Linked DNA regions of Homo sapiens: region 1 is linked to region 2. Evidence: promoter capture Hi-C in 16 types of primary human blood cells and fetal thymus (Javierre and others, 2016). All regions are on one chromosome and are shown on one strand. Each heading gives the region's core, a stretch centred on a gene start or on the middle of the fragment in contact. The rest is flanking DNA. Distances are from core to core; before and after follow the strand shown. Region 1 holds the start of R3HDM1 (R3H domain containing 1). Region 2 holds the start of PPIG (peptidylprolyl isomerase G).

Evidence for each region. The method cuts DNA at HindIII sites, captures the fragments that hold promoters and counts their contacts. A CHiCAGO score of 5 or more calls a contact.
Region 1: the fragment with the promoter of R3HDM1 here is called in contact with the fragment with the promoter of PPIG in region 2 in 2 of 17 cell types (fetal thymus and total B cells); the score reaches 7.6 in fetal thymus.

The regions. Positions count from the first base shown.
Region 1 is chr2:135,530,127-135,533,876 of GRCh38, reverse strand. R3HDM1 (R3H domain containing 1) reads right to left here and starts at 2,393. Exons shown (of 27, transcript NM_001378107.1): 1 at 2,244-2,393. ZRANB3 (zinc finger RANBP2-type containing 3) reads left to right here and starts at 2,659. Exons shown (of 21, transcript NM_032143.4): 1 at 2,659-2,750. RefSeq lists a silencer at 2,227-2,416 and enhancers at 2,384-2,678, 2,647-2,916, 3,267-3,346. The HindIII fragment of the contact is 3,394 bases long and covers 1-2,505 here.
Region 2 is chr2:169,582,931-169,586,531 of GRCh38, reverse strand. It overlaps PPIG (peptidylprolyl isomerase G), which reads right to left and starts at 2,181. Exons shown (of 14, transcript NM_004792.3): 1 at 2,042-2,181. RefSeq lists an enhancer at 2,216-2,265. The HindIII fragment of the contact is 789 bases long and covers 1,668-2,456 here.

The DNA of each region.
Region 1 (3,750 bases), core at 1,144-3,643, about 34 Mb after region 2:
TTTAAGATGGAGTTTCGCTCTTGTTGCCCAGACTGGAGTTCAATGGCCTGATCTCGGCTCACCGCTGCCTCCCAGGTTCAAGCGATTCTCCTGTCTCAGCCTCCCGAGTAGCTGAGATTACAGGTGCCCGCCACCATGAGCGACTAATTTTTTGTATTTTCAGTAGAGACGGGGTTTCTCCATGTTGGTCAGGCTGGTCTCCAACTCCCGACCTCAGGTGATCCGCCCGCCCAGCCTCCCAAAGTGCTGGGATTACAGGTGCGCCAACGCGCCCGGCCACTATTATATATTTATCTCTAATTTTCATAACTCCCTAAGTTAAGCATTATCATCCTCATTTTACAGATGAGGAAACCGAACTGAGGTTCATGGAGGGATCCAACAGCCAGGAAGAAAATGTAGAAGACTCCTAAATTTTCAACAGCTCTTTCTCTATATAAATCACCCAAGATCTGAAAGTATCGATTGTATAATTTATCAATTAACTCTTAAGTTCTGGAAAATACTATGCTGGCAGCTGGCAATATATGTTACAGGAACTCTGTGGGGATCTCAGGGGACTTGCCTTCCAAGGCTGTGTATTTATTTCTTTATTTTTTTGAGACCATGTTCTGCTATATTGCCTAGGCTGGCCTTGAACTCCTGGGCTCAAGTGATCCTCTCACCTCACACTCCTGAGTAGCAGGGACTACAGGTGACTACTACATGACTGGCAATTTTCATTTTTTTAATAGATACCACAAATTTCCTCCAGGACCTGAATGTATCTATGTCAATTCTGTAACTAGGTGTACTAGTTATGGAATACAGAAGATCATTAAGCCACCATAGTCTTCTCAAACCCTGAAGAAATGATCAAAACTCAGATGTTTCCTCAGAACCCAAGTTTATTCTGCTAACAAGTAAACCTCAGAAATGGGCCTAGAATTTTATCTCTGATCACAGTTATGTCTACTACAGACTATAGAATCCATGATTTAAAGACATATTCTTCCAGGCATAAAAGCAGAGTGGTATTTGAAAAGACGAGCGTACTCCATCAAAATGTGATGAAGAAATCATAACAGAATGCCCTAAAAATAGCCAAATATGCCAAATTTTTAGAAATTGAGACGTGTCCAATTATTCCTGTCAGACTGGTATCCTATTACTTAGAAGATCTTGTTTCACATATTATAAATGGGTAGACTTTCAGTTTGACTTTAATCATCTTTTCATTTAAAAGTTTTTGTCATCAATGATATTTAAGCTAAAAAAGGTTTCTTACAGTTACAATTAGGTAAACTATAACCATGAAGATATATATATATATATTTAGAAAATTTTATTAGAAAAACCATTTGCTGTTCACTAATCCTAATTTGGAAAGCACCTCTTCTTCACCTTTTACTTAACTATCCCAGGACAATTACACACGGAGCATGATAGTCCCAATAATTTAAGTTTCTTTATAAAAACAAGCTCAACAGAGTCACCCTTTGCACCTAGTCACAGCAACAAAAGAAAACAAAACACCAAAAAACTTCAAAGCCCACAAAGATTTGTTGGCAGCCTAAGGCTCAGGAATCAAAACGTGTGTAAATCTGATCCCGGGGGACCGTGGCACTGACAGTCATTCAACTTTCTTTTTAATATTCCCATTGTGCTTTTTCTGGTACCACAGGGAAAATGTACCTACATTTTACCAACCGGTCGAAGCTGAAAATTCTCTTGGTGCAAGGCCAGGGGATGCGGCCGTGGGGCGGCCGGGGGAGCCCGGGGCACCGGCGCCAGCCACACGAGAGAGCAGTACCACGCTCTTGGCAGGCCTGCTGTGGCTGGCTCCCGAGTCCCTGGGGCTGCAAGAGCAGCCGCGGAGGCAGCAGCAGCAGCCATGGCAGGGACTCGGAAACCTTTCCCCTGCCTCCTCCGCTAGGCCTCGAGGGGTTTGCTTTTCACATGGCCCCCGGGTGGGGGCGGTGGGCACAAGGCAGTGGCTGCAGCTGCAGCCGGAGCCGCAGCCGCGGGCCAGGCGAGCCTGGCTCACTCGGAACCCGACCTAACGGCGGGCTGGCAGCAGCGGGACGTCAGAAGGCCCTGGCTGAAGCGCCGACGACCCGGCGGGGAAGGCCACCTTTCCACACACCACATCTCTCCCCTGCCTGCCTCCTTCTCCGTTAGCGCTACCGGTTGGCGGGCGGGGGAGGGGAGCAAGGCGCGTTATTCCCGGGGAGCTGGACGGGGGAGGGAAGGGCATCTCTTACCCGCGTTACTGAGGAGGAGGAGGCGGTTGGAGCGCGGCGCGGCGGGGCGACGGCGGGGCTGGGTGGGTGCAAGTAAGAGTCTTACGAAAGGGAATTAACCCCATCACCAGCCCGGACACCGGCTCCAGCGGCAGCCGCGGCTGGCAGAATCCCGCCCCTTCCCACCACGCACTAGCCCCGCCTCTTCGTTCTCTTTGAGCGGCAGCCGACTATTCATAGGTTGTACGTCCCCGGAGTGACATGAGTTTTGCCCAATCAAGCTTGAAAAAAACTGTCTTCTCTCCACCCCTTTACCTCCTCCCAGGCCGCGGAGAGCCGTGCCAAATCTTCCTCCAACCTCAAGAGAAAAAGAACCAATCCGTGGTAAGTAACCGCCCTTGAAGGACGCAAAAGCCAACCAATGGTAAAACTAGGAGGACAGCCATTTTGCCCACTTGTAAAAGAGCTACCTTTTCCCACGAGTTGGAGCCTGAGGTGCGGAGTTTCGTGAGTTTTTACTGACTCGAGGTATTTAAAAGACAACCAGATCTCCTCAGTGGGTATTTATAGTGCTTTTTAGGGGTAAAGGAAAATTATCCTCCATGTGGGGCGAAGTGAGGCATGCTGCTTAAGGGGTTGGCTCCTCCCCTTAGCGCTAACGGGTTCTGAAACGAACACCTGGTTTCTCCAGCTTCAGTGGCGGAGGGCGGGGTGATTGCTCTTTTCGGCCTGGAGCGGACTACGATTCCCAACATGCTTTTCCCCTACTCATAACTTCTCCTCCGTTCACTTGTCGCGGTGCTTGGCTGGAATTGTAGTTCCTGAGAGGTACCCATGCCGCCGCTTCAGCCAATGAAAAGGGACAGAGTTTTGAATGACTTGAAATTAGGGCGGAGAACGAGTTGTCGCGAGGCTGTACAGAGCCCTTTTCGCAACCCTAACGGGAGAGAAGTGATGGAAGAAGGGTAGCCGGAAGAGTTTCCTCAAAATACCATAGGGGTTTTAAATTATTAGTACGTATTTAAACTCATCTACTTTCACGTTGTCCCGTTGAACGTCACTTCCGCTTAGGGGCGGACACGTCCCAAACCTGTGGCGGGAGTTGGAGATTCTGCGGCGAATACGCCAGGTGTGACTGGCTGGAAGTGGCGTGGCTGGCAAGTCGCTAGTTTCTTGCATGGGAGATAAAAAGTTGAACGGAATTTAATGGCATTTTAAGAAAGAGTGGGTGACATGGGATGGGGGTAATTTCCAGGGCCCTTATTACTTTCTCCACCCCGGCCTTCAATCGCGGGCGTCTCGGCCTGCTCGCTATTAGATTGCACGGCTAAATTTGTAGAAAGTACCTCTACTGCCTTTAGTCTTCGCGTGGTCAGTTTGAACTGTAAAGACAGGGCTCCGAAGTTCTGAACTACATTTACAGACACACTTTTTTTTTTTTTTTTTGAGACGGAGTCTTGCTCTGTCCCCAGGCTGGAGTGCAGTGGTGGGATCTTGGCTCACTGATTCACGCCATTCTCCTGTCTCA
Region 2 (3,601 bases), core at 932-3,431:
AATAAATGTAATGAACACTCTTCACCCATAAAGGAACCACTGAGTTAATGAAAGCCAACTTCACACACAATTTTAACAAAGCTGAGTATTTAATTTTCAAGCCCACAGTTGATGGAAGGTGGAGATCAAAATGTCATTTTGCAGGTAGGTGAAGAAACTGAAGCTCAGAAAGATAATTGGGCCAGAAAGTCCAAATTTTTCTAACCTAAGAAGTTTACATACTTATACACTCCTGACAGCAGGAGCACTCCTGACAACTGACTGCCTAGAAAAGCCTTAAAAAGGAAACCAACAATTCAAATGCGCAGAATCCTACTACAAGACCCTATAGGATCTCAGAGCATCAATAATTCTGAATCATAAAGAAATAGTCAAACAATGTACAATGAACTCTTGTTTAAGACACAGAACCATGTAATTTGTTACAGAAATAATTCTGTCCCAACTCGTTAACATAAAAAAAAGGGGAGTGCTAAAACGGGTAAATTTTCAGGATATATTAAAAACAGGAGAGAAGCAGCCATTCTAAATGTATCTTTTCTGGATTTTATAGCACGATTTCAAAATTTATAAAATGTTCACCCCCCCACCCGTCATTGTTACAAAGTAGCAATTACCGGCCATCCTGTTACCAAATGGGAATACACAAAGACAAAAACGTGTGTGTGACCGACACACACACACACTCACTCTTTTTTCCTGGTTTTAACTACTGAAAGTTAATATCAGGCCCCCCTAATTTCTAAAACATCTAATTGTTCTTTGGACAACTATGTTAGTACCAAACTATAAAAGCAAATACTTTTGTATTTGTGTTCACTACTGCAAAATGTTGGTTACACACAGAAAGGGCTATCGTGGAAAGAAATTAAAATCAATGCACAAAATGGTGCTTTTATAGCATTTCCAAAACGATTGTGCATACTCCTTGCCAGCACATCTAGACTTTGCTCCTTAAGACTAAACATGAGCTGGCCGTGCGCGGTGGCTCTCGCCTGTAATCCCAGCACTTTGGGAGGCCGAGGTGGGCGGATCACGAGGTCAGGAGATCGACCATCCTGGCTAACACGGTGAAAACCCGTCTCTACTAAAAACACAAAAAATTAGCCGGGCATGGTGGCACGTGCCTGTAGTCCCAGCTACTTGGGAGGCTGAGGCAGAAGAATCACTTGAACCCAGGAGGCGGAGGTTGCAGTGAGCCAAGATCGCGCCACTGCATTCCAGCCTAGGCGACAGAGCGAGACTCCGTCTCAAAAAAAAAGACTAACCAAGAACCAAATTAGCATACTTCCCCTTCAGGCATACTGAGCCCCGAAATCATCATCTTCCTCCTAAAGAGTAATTATCTCCTCCTAAAAGGCCTGCGCAGCTCACAGCTCCTCCGAAACACGGGGGAACTTCGCGAGAGCTCAAGACCCTGGACTTGAGTTTTAGAAAAATGCTTAACAAAGTGGCCTCTGCCACTTAACTGCACGACAGCCACTGTGCTGTGAGAGGAAAAGGTCGAAAGAGGAGGAAAGCTAGTCTTCAATTTTAATCCCTGTGATTCAGGCTCTTCGCCCGTCACTCTCCAACCCTAGCCTGACAGGACGTCAGGCTGTCTCCCCCTTCCCCACCAGTCCCGCCACCTACCCCGCAACAGTGCTGAGTCTTAGGATTTTGAAGCTTTAAAAATCAACCCGGCTCCCTAGAGTTCAGGCCGCAGTCGCTGCCGCCATGTTACAGCTTGTGCGGCAAAATGCGTCAGTGAGGGAGGTGTGCGCCTGAGTGGGGAGGGCGGGGGCTGGCAGAGGAAGGACCGTCCCCAGGCCCCGGGGCTCGACTGCAAGCCTTCTCCTTCTGCAACAGCGGCAAAGGCACTGCTGCGGTCCTCAGGGACTTCCTCTGGGCCCAAGCAGCCCCGATACCTCGAGGGAAAGACGGTAAACCCAACCCGGTCAGCCGCGCCGGCTCCGCCCCTCTTCCCAGGCCCTTCCCGCTTTCGTACGCAGGGACTGCTGAAATGACGCCGCCAGAACAACTTGAGCCTCATACCACTTACCTGCACCGGTAGAGTTTTCCTCTTCTCTGGGTCCGGTCCTTTGAAGCGCTTCAAATCTACCGCCGCCAGAAAAGGCGCTAAAGCCCGCTAACCGCCTCCCTCCCCCACAACTCAGTCCTGGCATGGAGAGACAGCGTCGCACCGGAAGCGCGTCAGGAGTGGGTTGTCAGCATCGGCCAGCGTTCACCTGCTTGCGTCACCACGCCCTCCTAGGACTTCTAGGATTTTGGTGCCTTTTAAATTCCTAGTTTATAGGTGGCCTAATGCTTTGTGGATGCGTTGACTGGGAACGCTTGTAACCGTTAAAATGCCATATCCTTTGTGAAGTAAAGTGCCTCATTTAATAAACATTTATTGATCTTACGCTAGGTTATCAGAAAGGAAGGCCTACCTTCATGGAGCTTCCAGTTAAGCTTCCACTTAACGCTAGGATATAAGTTCTAAAAACGCAGTAATGAGCAAAGTGTTATTTGAGGAAAGAGGAAGAAATTACAAAGAGCTTTGATGTTCTTTGTTGTTTTACAGATAAAGAAATTGAGGCTCAGGGAAGATAAACGCCTCCTCCTCAAACACACTGTTCTTGAATGCCAAAGCAAGTCTTTTGATGCCAAATCTAGTGCCTTCTAGAGAAAATATGGCATATATTATTTAATTATTTTAAGGGGCAAGGGTCCCCGGATTATGTTAGAAATAAATAACCATTGCTGTTTGGGCGGGGGGGTGGGGGGGGATGGGCAGTGATTCTGGTAGGGATGTGGGGTGTGTTTTAAAGGAACTAGCTAACTAGAGGACTTAAATTGTTCTGTCGTTTAAAGGCAACGTAAATTATGATCATTTAAATTTTTCACTCACTTGCATCAGGTAAATTAATTATCAACAACAGTTAGGCATGTGGTGGTGCTTCTAAGGGGCGTGACCAGTTTTACACAGCAGTAAAACAGAGGACATTTCTGCCTCTCCACCCCCACCTCTTTTAAGTCATTGCCCTTTATTGCAGGAGAGCAGCAGCATATTCATCTTTAGATAGTTCAGAGATTAAACGGATTTACACTTCGCTGTGTGTGGAGGGGACAATTCTGCAATACCTTAAAACAGGGGTCCCCAACCCCTGGGCCACAGACTGGCCTGGCTAATTTTTTGTATTTTTAGTAGAGACAGGGTTTCTCCATGTAGGTCAGGCTGGTCTCAAACTCCCAACCTCAGGTGATCCGTCCTCCTTGGCCTCCCAAAGTGCCGGGATTACAGGTGTGAGCCACCACGCCCGGCCAACGCTTTTCGAAAGAAGACATACTTGCAGCCAACAATCATAATGAAAAAGCTCAACACCACCAATCATCAGAAAAATGCAAATCAAAACCGCAGTGAGATACTATCTCATACCAGTCAGAATGGCTATTATTAAAAAGTCAAAAAATAACAGGTGCTGGTGAGGTTGTGGAGAAAAAGGAACATTTTACAGTGCTGGTGGGAGTTTAAATGAATTCAACTATTGTGGAAGACAGCGTGGCGATTCCTCAAAGACCTAGAGGCAGAAATACCATTTGACCCAGCAATCACATT